2 separate regions of the Homo sapiens genome follow, and region 2 is linked to region 1. Evidence: promoter capture Hi-C in 16 types of primary human blood cells and fetal thymus (Javierre and others, 2016). All regions are on one chromosome and are shown on one strand. The core of a region is centred on a gene start or on the middle of the fragment in contact, and the rest is flanking DNA. Distances in the headings are between cores, read along the strand shown.

Region 1 (7,629 bases), core at 588-3,087:
TGTCAATGCATCTCAGTCCTTGGATTCCAGATTGTTATTCTATATCCATCTGCTCTGTCCTGATTGTCAGTGAAAAGTGTTGCTCTTCGCCTGGTGGGACATCAAAACTCTGACAATCTTTGGCTCTTCATTCAGAGATGGGTGGTGCGTGCAAAAGGGTACAGGTTTCTTGGTTATACATTTAGGATACCTTACAAATTTTCCAAAGACTAACATTAACCTCTGGTTAGGGGTAAACGACAAAGTGGCACAACGAAGAAGAAGGAGAAGGAGAAGAGAATTTCAGTAGTTAGTATTTTCAGTTCTGGACCTGGACCTAAGGAAAAACACTGCCAAGTTAGTATATCAATACACACAAGTATCTCCTGAACTATTTTTTTGTTTGTTTGTTTTTGGAGGGAAAGGGAGCTTGGCAATTGCTTGTAGGTACTGATATTAAAATGTTGCAAATACATGGAGGTTCCTTGGTGCTCGCAAAATAACCATGACATGTAAAACAAGCAAAGAACTACCTAGTTTACTAAAGTCTTAAACCCTAACTCATAGATGTCCTAGTATAAAATAGCACTATGGATGCTAAAACCAATGTCTTAGAGTAGTCAAATACTAAAGATACACTTGTTGATACTATACTAAACTGTATTTTAAACCTTATTTTTAGGTCACGCATAGCACTAATAAAACAGTGAATAAGCACCATAAGAGCATGTCAAAATGTAGGAGGAAGGCCACAACTAAACTTCATAGTAAAACCTACCACCATGTGATTAAACACGACACCAAAAAGTTTTTAGCTAGTTTTCTATTTATATCCCTAGATATCTTTGGGATAGGGCCAAAGAAATGAGTTCATAGAAAGGTATAAAGGCCATTTTAAGTCCTGGTTTTGGGTGTGTCAATGTTTGTTGCAGCAGCAGAAGGAAGGCTGAAACAGAAAGTTGTGTCATAAATGGAACAAATACTGTTTAACAATTTTTTTTTGTCTTAAAAACAGCAAAACCCACCATCTTCCTGGAGTCTGCGTTGTTCTCTTCCAGAATAGATGTTGAGCTTTTAAACAAACCTGCAGTAGAAGCAAGCCCTCTCCAGGAAATCCCAATCTCTTTCCAAACAGGGACAGCAAAGGTTCTCTCTGTTGTGGCTGTTTTTCCCTCTCTTCTGGGAATTGGTTTGCCTTCTGAGAGCATCCCAGGAAGGGGAGGTGCGCCCCAAATTGGCGAGGCTCTGCCAAATACCAAAGGCTCTTCTTTGGAAGAAGACTCCTCCTTTGGACGTGAGGCGCCCCTACCAGAGCGCCCGCGTACAGAAACGGAAACCACTAGCTGCGCTGAAGTGAGTCAAGTGATGAAATCAAGACTACACGGGAAGGAAGCTCACGAAACCTAACTGGTGACAGAAGCTGCTGAACCCTGCCCGAAGAAACCACATGAGCCAGCAGTTGCTGCCCTCCCGAAGTGGTCCTCGGAGGCAGCGCACCCCTTCATTTTGGCGAACCGAGGAGGAAGGGAGGAACCGTGTGGGGGAAATCTAGAACTTCTGGTTCCCCAAGGACCCAGCAGACTGTGTTCTGGCTACAAGGTGATCACTGCCACCAGGTCAGTGCAGGATTCCTCCAATGTAGATGGGCCGGGAGCCACAACTTGCGCGGAGCAGCAGCCTCGCCGACCACTCAGAGAGAAGCCGCGCGACAGCCAGGCTTGGCCCGGACGGCGCCCCCACCCTGCGCGCGCGATCCAAGGTTCTCACCTGGAGCGCTCAGGTAGGGCTGGGGCGGGGCGGGAGGCTGGCGCGCAGGCGCGGAAGTGGGGCCTCGCCCCTGCCGACGTCGCAGGCTGGAGCTCACCTGGGAGACTCCAAGTGGAAGCCGAGCCTCGGTTCTGCCTCTCCAGGCAACGCGGGAGGCCCAGCGGGAAGGCAGGAGGCGGCGGCGGAGGAGGAGCTCTACTGAGCCGCAACTGTGGCGACAGCAACCGGAGTCGCAGCCGCCGCCACCTGCACCTGGCGCCTAGCCCACGTCCAGCGCCTGCCCGGCCGCCGCTTCCCGCCACCCTGCCCTGCCCACCCGCCAGGTAAGCCGGCGGCAGGCGGAGGGAGACGCGGTACCCCTGGGCTGCGTTAGAGCAGGCGGGAGGACGGCCGCAGGGGTTCACGTGTTGGGGACAGGGCTACGGTCCAGGTGGCCGGTTGGAGACGGTCTCGAGAGCAGTGTGTCGGTTGCCCCTGGAGAGATCCCGAAAGGGGCGCCCTGGGCCAAGGGGCAGGTGGCGCCTCGGGGGGGAGCCCGGTCACACCCTCTCGCCCACGGTGCCCCCGCCAGTCCCTATGGGGCGGCCCCTGAGGAGCTGGACGGAGACCAAAGACCTGGTGGCCCCGGACTTGCCCTTGGGAGGGTCGCAGCGTGGGGACCCTGAGAGGGAGGGCCCGGCGGGAGGCGGGCGCGCTTCCACTCCGGCTAGCAGGTTGCCTGTCTCCTCCAGCCTCTCTGCCCGAGAGGACATCCCGCGACAGCGAAAGACATGGCTTTGCCAGGCAACTTTCCTAGCCGGGGACCCCAAACAGTTCTAGGCTGCAAACCGCGGCCGCCGAGCCATTTAAATGGTTTCCGAGTGGTTTGGAAAGGGCTCTGTGGCCGGGACGCGGACACCCCTCTCTCTCTGTTTCGACTCTGCACTTTTCCGGGTGCGCTCTCCAGGCCAGAGTTGGGCCCACTTTCCTGATCAATGGAGAAGAGTTCTTTTCTTCCGTGGCGGGAAGAAATCCAACTGCCACGCACCAACCACTCACCATCTCGTTAGAGGACCTGTTGACTTAAGGACCTGCATATCGCGGCTATGGTTTGCCTGTGGCATATGACTCAAAGGTTCAAAAAAACATTGTTTCAGGATCCTGCCACGTCTAAGCTTGGGTGTGCCAGGCCCAGATTCCTTTCCCTGCCTAATTAGGCTTTTCTGAAGCCTAAGAATTGAGGGTGAAACTGGCGCTTACCTTAGACTTTTATTTCCTTCTCTTTCCAACTCATCAAAGAAACTATTTCTGTTTTAAGAACCCCATCGAGTTACCAATATTTCCGATTCTTGAAAACGTTAACATAACTTGCTATAGAAGTTACACTACATAATGAAGACATTTACAGTCAAATTCTATAGCTAAAAAATATTAAAGTGACAGCATTTTAATTAGAAAATCTCTGCTTGTGGGAAAATCTGTTGCTTCTTTTATTGTATATATTTTTCTTTGCGTTTGTGGCTAAAATCCATGAGGTTAAAGTCACACGCTGCCATTAGATTCTTTTTTTTAATTTAACTTTTAATATCTGAAATCTAGTGCACATGTTAAACTTTCCAAGCAATTTGTACCGAGAATCAATCTTTATATATTGCTTTAACCAACATTTTTACGTAGAAGTTTCTGATAATAATAACAATTCCATTGTTTTGTTCTATCTCCACACATTTTAAAAATATTTTTTAAATTGCACGTTTTACTTAAAATGCCTGATGCAACATGTAGTGGGGTTATTTTTCTTCTTCTTTTTAAGATTAGATGGAAATCTAAAAGCCAACCACAGCATAACATGATGTAATTATTAATTCAATCACCACTTTTCTACATTTCTTAAAAGGATCTCACCTGACCTCTTAATCTTGTCTCCATACAGAGAAACAAATGTGCTAAATACTGTTTAAATATGAGATATAGGAGTTGTTCCCTGAATTTTGAATATTAGTCTTCATTACTTACTAGGCAGATGTTACCAGACTGTCTTTCCTCTTAACCTCTAGTGAGAAATGTAACATGTTTTCATTAGCTAGAGTAACAGTGTAACTTAATCTATCTGTTAAATAGGAAAAATAATACTTTCCTAGATTAAGATAACAAAACCTTAAAAACAATCAGGAGTATCTTCCAGCCCTAGCATTCTCGAGATCCCTTTCTCACTTTGGAGATTCAATACTCAAACCATCCATTTATGAAAAATTGAAGCCAAGAGAGGTATTCTAACTTCATTTCACTCAGAGATGGCATGATCATTCCAGTGGCTTGACTCATGACTCCTGTATCTTACTTTTCACCACCCACATCCTCACTTACCATAAGATGTTTATCTTTTTTCTTTCATATAATTTGTAAGGCCTTTGTAATTACAGAATTGTCCATTGCTCTTTCTTCACTCTGATTTACCCTCATTTCTACTTGTCCAAATATTGCCTGACTTCGTGGAAACTACCCAGTGAAGGCATCATGCTCCTCTCATTGTGGAATAGCATGCATATTGATGATGCCATGTCAGTTGAGACTTTTAGTTCCTTCTTGGTATTTCCAAGCCACAGTTAATTTTTTAAGTCAATGTGGATAACATTATTTAGTCTTCTGATCTTTTTATTATATTGGCTTAAAATATATTTTATGAGGCAGCTACCCAGTGCCTTTCATCCATTTGCAACACTCCAGATTTTTTATTTCAAGCACACTTCCTTAACACTAAGTTTCTTTAAACTTTTTTTTCCTTTTACTGCAATCCTCAATAACTAATTTATTCTCTGCCTCAACTCTGTAAACTCCAATGTGAGTGTATATAAATGAAACAAGTTTTATTAATATAAAACAGTGCTTAACCTTACAACATGTATGTTCTTTATTATTTTATTTTTAAAAACGTTGGTCTAAACAATTAGACTGCTTTATGACCACGAAAGTGCTGGAGCCCTCAATGTGAAAATAGCACTATTCTGTTGAATTTTTGTTCTTTTAAAGGCTGATTTTTCTACCAGCTTTCTTTTTCTCTGTCTCATACATGCGTATACACACACACACACACACACACACAGGCACACACCCACTCACATGAAAGAAAATAAATTATTTCTTAAAAACTTTACTGTAATCCTAATTAAACATGTATTGTAGGGCTTGAGGCTCCAGGACCTTGGTGCTAGATTAAATCTTTCAAATATTAAGAACTACATGAAACCTTGTTCATTATACATATTTTGTGTTAAATGGGTTCTCATCATGCTGTAGTGTATTTGGGAACAGGAAAAACTAGAAATATTTTTTTCTGAGGGGATTTTGATGATAAGAATTCAGTGAAATTTTGAGGGAGAAACCTTCTGTCCAGCTCTATTCTGAACTCTTAAAGTTTTATGACTGAGTTAGAGTTCTGGGTGGAGTCTGAAAATTTATTAGAGAAAACATAGCCAGTTTATTATTTGGTTTATATTCTGTTAATATTTAATGCTTTTCTTTTTTACTATGAAACAAGTATGAGACAAATTGTAGGAATTACACTCCCCCTCTCCACAAAAAGACTACATTGAGAGATTAAAATAGATCCCTCAATGATTTGTAGGAATGTAGTCTTGGAAGCTCTGATTGGATAATTAAGCCTTCCGTAGACACTTTCAATTTTAACCTGCCTTTACATTCTTGGTGGGTGAAATATTTCTCCTAAGGAAAATATTATCATATTTAGGATTTTAGAAATGATCAGTGCCTGAATCATCTTCACATGTATTCAGTTCTTTAGTCCATCAAGTGCAAAAATACATTTGGAATGATAGATACTTTATAGATATAAAATCCTATTGAAAAGGAAGGTGTTTTCAGTTAGCTGTTCAATTATGCATTTAGTTAGTATCAAAATAATTCATACTATGTAATTTGGGTGAAATTTAACACAACTCATGTACACTAAGGGGGAAAACTGAATTCAAATCAATTCCAGCAGTGGCAAGAGACAAAAGTACATTCACTTATTGCAAAGCAAAGACAAGTAGGACTCTGAATTCTAGGTCATTAGAGACTACTGACAATTATATGACACTTCCTTGGGTCATTCTCAGAGTTGGGCTCTTATTTTTGGCACTAAAGAGAGAATATTCCCCCAAGTACACCTTTTCCCTATAATTGTTTCAGTTTCAAACTGTCCAAACTAATTTTCTTTTCTATATGATTGCCTATTGGACATCTTTAACATTTGTTCATCACTGGAGATTATATATGTTCAAACCAGAACCTTCATCTCATCAAAAAACAAATGAACAAACAACCTGCTCACTCTCTGTATTCTATTTATAGATAGTAGTACATTGTACCATTTCTTATCTATAATTCAAAAATCATCCTCTGAAAACAAAGCAAAACAAAATTTAACTCATTTGTTAGCAAAACTTGAACTCAGTTGGAGCAAAGCCTGAGTGAACTGTCAGGAGGCTATTGTGATTGTGTATTCAACTTAGTGGATTATGTCCAGCTGCAGAAATAGTGCTGTTTGATTACATAATACTGCCCAGGCCCTGCTGGGGTACACTTTTACATTGATTATGTAAACCATATCACCTTTCTAACATCCAAAAAAATCAGATTTTTTTTTTTTTTTATGAGACAAGGTCTCACTATGTTGCCCAGGCTGATCTTGAACTCCTGGACTCAAGTGATCCTTCCATGTCAGCCTTCCAAGTAGCTGAGACTACAGGCTGTCAAATCCTGAATTTTGAAATATATTTTGCTGCAGAGATTTGGGAGAGTGAATCATAAATGTGTACTACCATCCAGGTGCCATACCAGAAATCCAGAGGTAATTTTAAACTCTTTTTCTTAGCCTCTACAACTGCTATGGTCTGAATGTTTGTGTTTTTCCAAAATTCATATGTTGAAATCAAATCCAATGTATTGGTATTAGGAGTAGGGTCTTTGGGAGGTCATCAGGTCACGAGGGCCTTGGCCTCGTGTGTTTTTGTAAAAGATAATGTCCTTATAAAAGAGGACTGAGAAAGCTTGTTAGCCTTTTGCCCTTCCTCCATGTGAGGATACCTAGGAGGCCATCTATGAGGGATGTGCCCTCGCCAGACATTGAATCTGCCAGCAGCTTGATATTGGACTTCCCAGCTTTCTGGCTGTGAGTGGTATATTTGTGTTGTTTAAATTACCCAGTCTAAGGTATTTTGTTATAGCATGAACTAAGACAACAACCATTAGAACACTGAATCCACTTAACATTTTATACCTTTCTCCCAGCCATAAATTCTTTCACTTCTACTGATCTAGTTTAAGGTCTTAACATCTCTCAACCAAGGTATCATAGCTGCCTCCTACCTGGTATCTCAGCAGATAGTGTTGTCAACCTCAAGTCCACCATCTGGAGGATGAGGATGATCTTTTTAGAAATGCAAATTCTCTCTCTCACTTAAAATCCTTCAACAATTTTCTGTTGCTTACCGGATAGAACCCACAGCCCTTAAAATGGTCCCATGGGATCTGAGACTTGCTTAACTCTGGAGTGATACTCCATAAGCCGAAATTTTATTTCCCAGCAATAGACTTCTTATTGTTTTTTTTTTCTTGTGTGCTTTTCTTTTGCACTTCCCACTGCAGAGAGTGCCTTTCCTTCTATCTTTACATCTATCTATAGCTCTTAATGGCTCTTAAAACTCAAAGAAGGTCTTGCTTCATTTGGGAAACTGTGTCCCCTCACCCACACCTCCACATATACCTGAGCAGGGTGAGGTGTCCTGTGTATACTTCTATTATTTGCTTGATACGATATAAATATAGTCTGCTTTTGCTCTTGTCTGTATACACACACACACACACACACACACACACACACACACACACCCTTTTGGATTA
Region 2 (7,170 bases), core at 3,100-5,599, 150 kb before region 1:
AACTGAATTTGAAATTTTATTTAATTCTAATTAATTTACTTTTTAAACTTAAAAATGATACTTGATTCAGTTATTAGAAAACTTATTTAGGAGTAACTTGAGTCTAAAAATCTGCTTTTCAGCCATAAGTTTTATGAAAACTACAAATCAAGTATTTTTAAATAAAATTTAACTTTTTTTTTTATTTTTGAGTCGGGGTCTTGCTCTATCACCCAGGCTGGAGTGCAGTGGCGCGATCTCTGCTCACTGCAAGCTCCGCCTCTCGAGTTCACGCCATTCTCCTGCCTCAGCCTCCCCAGCAGCTGGGACTACAGGTGCACGCTATCACGCCCGGCTAATTTTTTTTTTTTTTTTTTTTGTATCTTTAGTAGAGACAGGGTTTCACCGTGCTAGCCAGGATGGTCTCGATCTCCTGACCTCGTGATCCGCCCGCCTTGGCCTCCCAAAGTGCTGCGATTGCAGGCGTGAGCCACTGCGCCCAGCCAAAATTTAGCATCTTAATTGTGATGTGCTGTTATTATGAAATACCAGATTTCACAGTTAGTAAGGAAAGAGCATGCAAAATATCTCATTAATTTTTATGTCAATGATGCATTGAAATTATATCTTAGATATATTGGGCTAAATAAAACATTAAGATTAATTTTAATTGTTTCTTTCTATTTCTTTGATAGTGCTACTAGAAAATTTTAAGTTACATATATGGCTTGCATTTTATTTCTATTAGACAGTACCACTATAGAGAGAAGTAAATTTTTTGCCTTGTTAATTATCTGACCTATTATAAATACCTGATCCAGAATTTAATTTTTATTTAATATCATTTTCCCCTACCAGATAGAGAAGCTATTCTGGAATCAGATGCCAGAGTGAAGGAACAACGTAAAGGAGCTGGAGAGAAAGCCTTATACCATGCAGGCTTATTTTTATGGCACATTGGTCGCCATGATAAAGCAAGGGAATATATTGACAGAATGATCAAAATATCAGATGGTAGTAAACAGGTAGCTATTTTTCTGAGTTTAAAATAATAACATTAAAAAATGCTTATGTTATTGATATATCCAGTAGTATCTGTGATTTAGCTCTTTATTATTGTTCACTCTATTGCCAGTTTGTAAATAACAGCTTTATTTTAACCCATTTATGGTTATCAATATGGTTAATAGTGTATTGTAGAATAGGAATTCTCTAAGGTTAGTTTTATGCTACTGAGTCTTCAAAGATCCCTGCCTGGTTCCTTCTCTCTGTTTTTCTCTTTCTTTTTCTCTACCTTTTTTTCCTTCCCTCCATATTTTGTCCTTTCCTTTCTCCCTCTCTCCTTATTGAACAGCTCTAGATACAAGGTACCATTATTTGTACTGTTAATAATGCAAAGGAAAATAATACATAAACTTTGCTTTCATGAATGAATAACCCAGTAGTGCATAGAGCACATCCCCAGCTAATATTGTGAGAAAAATGATAGATGATATGAGAGATATGTGATTAAAGTATGCAAGAAAATAATAGCTAACATTTATTGCTTGCTTACTTTGTGCTAGGCACTGTTTTAAATTAAGGAGAGATCACACGCTTAAGTGTTAAGAGAATGTGAAAGAATTTTTTTGAAGGAACTAGCATTTGAGCTAAAACCTGAAAGATGGATACAATTTCAACAGGCAAAGATTATGGGAAAGGGAAGTAGGTACTCCCAAGGTGAGAAATAATAGATGGAAATGAGACATGTTACTTGAGGGTACACTAAGATACTCATATTTGATGGAATACAGGATACGTTGATAACGAGAAGGGAAGAAAAGCTTGGAGAGGTAACTTGAGACAAATTGAAGGATCTTGACTGCTAGTTAAAAATATTTGTATCTGATTGACATGCATTGAGAGGCTATTGAAGACTTTTAACTATGGTAGTGATTTTATTAGAGTGCAAATCCAGAAGATTAATTAGACAATGGTTTCTTGGATGAAGTGGCTTGAGAATAAACTGAAATGCAGTGAAAAGAAAAAGATAGTACTTCCTTGTGGAAGGTTTTGAGGCACTACACTAAAATATTGTACAGTGAGTACAAAGTTCAAAATTTTTAAATACCCACAGGACCTGTGAACTGATAATAGTTTAGAAAGATAACAAGTTGTCACGTATTAGGATGTCTTTGAGGCCTTAAGCCTAAAAAAATTAGAGACCAGTTAGCATAAATAGAAAATACATTGGCATAAGAAACTAATCTTAAAGGGAAGTGATCTATTTGTCTTAAGACATGCTGTATTTCTGGTGCTGGCAGAACAGTAAGATGGAGATAGCAGATGAATTTCTGGAAAAAGAAAAATTTAGAAGAGGTTTTCGGCTAGAAATATAGGTTGGGAATCATCCACACAGAGACAATAGTTAAAACCATTCAATGATGGCACTGATTTAGCACATAGCATTGGTTAAGATCCTTATTTGTATTTTCGGGTGAAATACAGGGAGGTAAATATAGTCTTAGTTAAAGGTTTATAAATTTGTCAGTTAACCTAGATTTTTTTAATAGAAAAAGCACATTTCACAGTTTTTTATTTGACCTTAAAGAGAAAAATAACCAGTTTTTATCTTGTTTTCAATCCCATATGTCTTACAACCCATCGGCCCACTAACATGTGTAAAGATAAATATCCATGAGTTCTTCAGTTTATAATTTCTCAGGCTATCCACCTGTCATTTGAAATTCAATGGACTAATCAAAGAGGTTAAGAAGATTGTTGCCAGATTATCTGAATCTTTAAGATATGTGAAGCAAGGCTTCTTCTGTTATTTCATCTTAGTTCATTTAGACGGTTTGTCCAAAAAGAAACAACAAATTCTCATCTATATATTGAATTTCATGTTTAAGTGTTATTAATTGTCAATTACTAGCAAAGTCTCAGAGAAAATAATGGTTTTAACACTAATGGAATATTTGATAAGCTTCTTAATTTTAATATTGAGCTTAATAGTAATGTTAAAGGCTGAAATTTGTAGTATAGTTCCCAAGACACTAGGCTGGCAAGGGTTCAAAAGTGATTTCACTAACAGAATTTTATTGTTCATAACATATTTGATAGAGTCCTTTTTGTTATTAATTGCCAGAAAAATGACATTAGGCTCTTTCATTAACATTTATTTCTCTCATTTCTAAAAAAGTAAAAATAGAATTATTCATTTTACAGGGACACGTTTTGAAAGCATGGCTTGATATTACAAGAGGAAAAGAGCCTTACACTAAAAAAGCACTGAAGTATTTTGAAGAGGGACTCCAAGATGGGAATGATACTTTTGCTCTGCTGGGTAAGGTGAGTTGGAGTTAGGGTAAATAAATCATGTTTCAAAATATATTCATAATATATTTGAAACCTGACAAAACCAAGTAGCTCAAAAAAGTTGATAATTTTCATGATACTGTTGTCAGCTCACAGCTGTAAGGTAGACTGGCATTTGTGTAGGACAATGAGCAATACACTAGAGAAATGTATTCCCTGCCAGAGTTCCTGAATCCTGGATCAGCTGTAACTGTTAATTGTTGTTGTTGTTTTGGTTCACACATTCTTTCCTCAGCATTTATTATGTGTCTTATGTATGTGAGGCATCCCTCTAGATATTAGAAACCCTGAGCAAGAGAAAACCTCTTGTTTTTATGGAGCTTATATCCTACTGATGGAGGCAGACAATAAACAAAATAAGTAAGTTATATGGTATATTAGAAGGTGATAAGTATAATGGAAAATACAGCTGGAAAAGCTAGGGCATGAACTTCCAGTTTTACATGAAGTGGTCGGAGAAAGTGACATTTGAGCAAACACATTTATGGAGGTGAGGGTTAAAGCCCTGCAGGCATCTGGGGAAAGTATTTCAAATAGAGGAGATGATGAGTTCAGGTACCCTAAGGTGTATTCAGGGCTAGCAAGGAGGCCAAAGTGGGTTGAGTAAAGAGAACAGAAGTGAAGGCCTGAGGAAGAAAGGTGGGATGGGGGTGAGGAGGAGTGGTGGGCCTGGCCTGTTCTGTAAGGCCTTTGGCTTCTACCTTCTATTAGAGAGACAGGCAGCCAATACAAAGTTTTGAACAGAGAAATAACATGATCGGACATACATTTTGAGGGATGAGCAATTGAAGGAGTCATTAGAACTTACTGATGGATGGAAATATTTAAGTAGGACCCTTTCTTCAATCCCCATTGATGCTATCTAAATGCCTTAATTTTTTTTTGACTCAGCAAAAAGAAATTATATGTTGGGAACAAGTCTGCTAGATAAGCAGTAATTTGGAGGGATAAAAAAGAAGGGGAGAGGATTCATGTCTTGACTTTTGTTAATGTCTCCACATCACTTTTCCTGTCACTTTGTGTGGACAGTAAGCCTGTTGAACATCTTGTGTTCAGGCCCACTACCCTCAAGTTTTACCTAATAGCACTGCTGAAGAAATTGGCCATATACTTTTCTTGATCATTTTCCTTCTCTTAAAGAAAAGCTAGTTGATAAAAATTTGCCTCATCATCTCTTTTTAATGTACTAACTATATTTATAGCTTTATTTTTTCTGACTATGAGATACATGAACATAGTAAAACTTTTTTTCAGAAAATACAATAACATCTGAATGAGAAAATGAGCATCACCATTGGAAATAACCAGTTAAACTATTATATATAATATCTCTTCATGTCAGTAAATCTACGTCTACAAATTTATATCATCATTTTTAATGATTACTTAACATTTTATTAAATTAGATATACTATAATTTTCTCCTCTAGGTACATTTGGGATTATTTTATACATAAACAATTCTGCCATAAATATCATCTATATACTTCCTTGTGGTCTTGTCCAATTATTTCCTTCAGATAATTCATAGAAGTGAAAAATGTTGAAGTAGAGGGATTTGTTTGAACTGTATTTTGCTTGTTCTTTAAAATCATATATTCTTTAACCTGAAAATAATTTCTTAAAAAAGATGCAAAATTTCTAAAATTTCTTAAAATTTTAGATGCTACTTGAAAATTTCCTGGAAACATTTTAATCTAAAAAGATAATTTTGTTTTAAATGGAAACATTATTTTATGGTATTTCCGAGAACATTTTAAAAAATTTTATCCTTTAATCATGTTTTTCAGCCATTTAAAAGTAAATTTTAAAACACAATAGCTTATATAATGTATTTGTATTATTCTGTGATGTTTTAAAATTTTGTTTTGACAAAAACTTAAAAAGTGATAACTGCTCCTCACAGAAAAGTAAGTATTAAACGCTCATACTCTGCCTGCTCTGCGTTATGAGAACTTTGATATGAAAGATCACAGTTTGGATATCACTTTTTTTCCCTTCCATTAGGCACAATGCCTTGAGATGCGCCAGAATTATTCAGGTGCCCTGGAGACTGTGAACCAGATAATCGTGAATTTTCCGAGCTTCCTTCCTGCTTTTGTTAAGAAAATGAAATTACAACTAGCCTTGCAGGATTGGGACCAGACAGTTGAGACAGCACAAAGGTTAAGTAATAAAAGATGACACAAGTCTCTTTGGATTTGGTTATAATTTTGAGAAAAAGCGACATCTGTGAATTTTTTTCATAAGGGTTTTTAAATTTGATTTTTTTCAAACAGTGTGGAACCGAGGAAATACTTAAAATCATACTGCTTTTAAACATTGAATTTATTGATTTACATAAATATTTGATTCCTGGTTTAAGACAGACACTCTTTTTAGGCAAACAGGCCAATATCCCTGTGGTCATGAAGCTTATATTTAAGTGAAAGGAACCATATACTAAGCACACCAAATAAGTATATTGTGTAGTATGTTAGAAAGTATAAGTGCTATGGGGAAAAGATAAACCAAGAAAGAGATGGGGAGTGTTGAGGGGTTCAATCTTATGGGATGGTCATGGAAGGCTGAGACCTTTGAGCCATCTTCTAAAGAAGGTAAGGGAGTAAGCCATGCAGATATTTGAGAGAAGACTTTGCAGAAAGAAGGAAAAGCAAATGCAGAGTCCCCGAGGTGGGAGCACATGTCATATGTTTGAGGAGTGGGAAGGAGTAAGAGAGGTGAGTAAGGTGTGAGGTCTGAGACAAAGGGTGGGAGTGAGCCCGTGCTAGATGGTGAAGGGTCTTGTTACCCATGTAAGGATTTGGGGTTTTCTTCTGAAGCATGAGGTTACTGGAGGGTTTTGAGCAGAGGAGTGCCATCATCTAAATTCTGTTTTAAAAGAATCACTCTGCCATGTGCAAAACAGACTGTGGGCGAGCAGGCAAAGGCAGAAGCAGGGAGAACCTTTTGAAAGCTGTTGCCATCATTGAGAAATGGTCGGGGCAGGCCCAGTATAGTTGTGGTGGAAGTGCTTTGAGAAGTGATTGGAATCTGGACCTGTAGCATTTTGTTTAGGTGTAAGAGAAAGAATAGTTTAAGGTGATTCCAAGGTTTTTGGCCTGAACTACCAGAATAACAACAACAATGATGATAATGAACTGTTGTGAAGTGTTCAGAATGCCTGGCTCATAGGAAGTGCTATTTATTCCTAGGGTAACCCTAAGAGGAAGGTACTATTAGTATTTCTGTTTTACAGCTGAGTGGACTAAGGTACAAAGAGGTTAAGAAGTTTCTCCAGAGCCACACAATTACTTAGTGGTGGAGTCAGGATTCAAATCCAGAGCACTCTAGTCCCAGAGTCTGTGCTCTTACCCACTACTTGCACTAGAGGATAGAGTTTGCTTCAGCTGGACAGGGTGATTATGGAAAAAGAAGGTTTCAGGGCAGGTAAGGAGTTTAGCTTTCAACATTGTAAGTTTGAAATGCCTATGAGAAGTCAAAGTAGAGATGGATGTATGGGCAGGCAGCTGGATGTCTGAATCTGGAGTTCTTGTGAGAGGTCTAGGCTATAGCTAGTATTTTGGAGTCACTGACACATAGATATGATTTATGTGTCAGTGACTTTAAAGCCATGAGATCAAGAATAAATATATTTGAGTCACAAATCAATACTTTCTAACAGATGAATTCATGTCACTTAATACTGAAATTACAGAAAAGTAAATTTCATAGGTAATACAAATATACCTTTAAAATCAGAATGTCTTAATAGAACTTTTCATGCAAACAATAGGCAGGATACTTTCAAGATACAAATGAAGTATAAATTGCATAGAAAGTCACCTTTACTTC

Evidence for each region. Contacts are between HindIII fragments. The CHiCAGO score rates a contact against its expected background, and 5 or more counts as called.
Region 2: a fragment that was not itself captured here is called in contact with the fragment with the promoter of GALNT3 in region 1 in 1 of 17 cell types (neutrophils); the score reaches 6.8 in neutrophils.

The regions. Positions count from the first base shown.
Region 1 is chr2:165,788,455-165,796,083 of GRCh38, reverse strand. It overlaps GALNT3 (polypeptide N-acetylgalactosaminyltransferase 3), which reads left to right and starts at 1,837. Exons shown (of 11, transcript NM_004482.4): 1 at 1,837-2,069. LOC124906086 reads right to left here and starts at 2,498. Exons shown (of 6, transcript XM_047446887.1): 1 at 2,292-2,498; 2 at 1,747-2,165; 3 at 1,005-1,284. The coding sequence starts at 2,498. RefSeq lists silencers at 1,895-2,044, 2,115-2,204 and enhancers at 1,275-2,180, 2,181-3,087. The HindIII fragment of the contact is 5,078 bases long and covers 1-2,902 here.
Region 2 is chr2:165,939,358-165,946,527 of GRCh38, reverse strand. It overlaps TTC21B (tetratricopeptide repeat domain 21B), which reads left to right. Exons shown (of 29, transcript NM_024753.5): 4 at 838-1,004; 5 at 3,187-3,309; 6 at 5,344-5,501. The region is part of intron 1 of TTC21B-AS1 (TTC21B antisense RNA 1); the gene reads right to left. Among named protein-coding and RNA genes, the nearest start is that of TTC21B-AS1, 9.1 kb to the right of the region's middle. The HindIII fragment of the contact is 2,806 bases long and covers 2,947-5,752 here.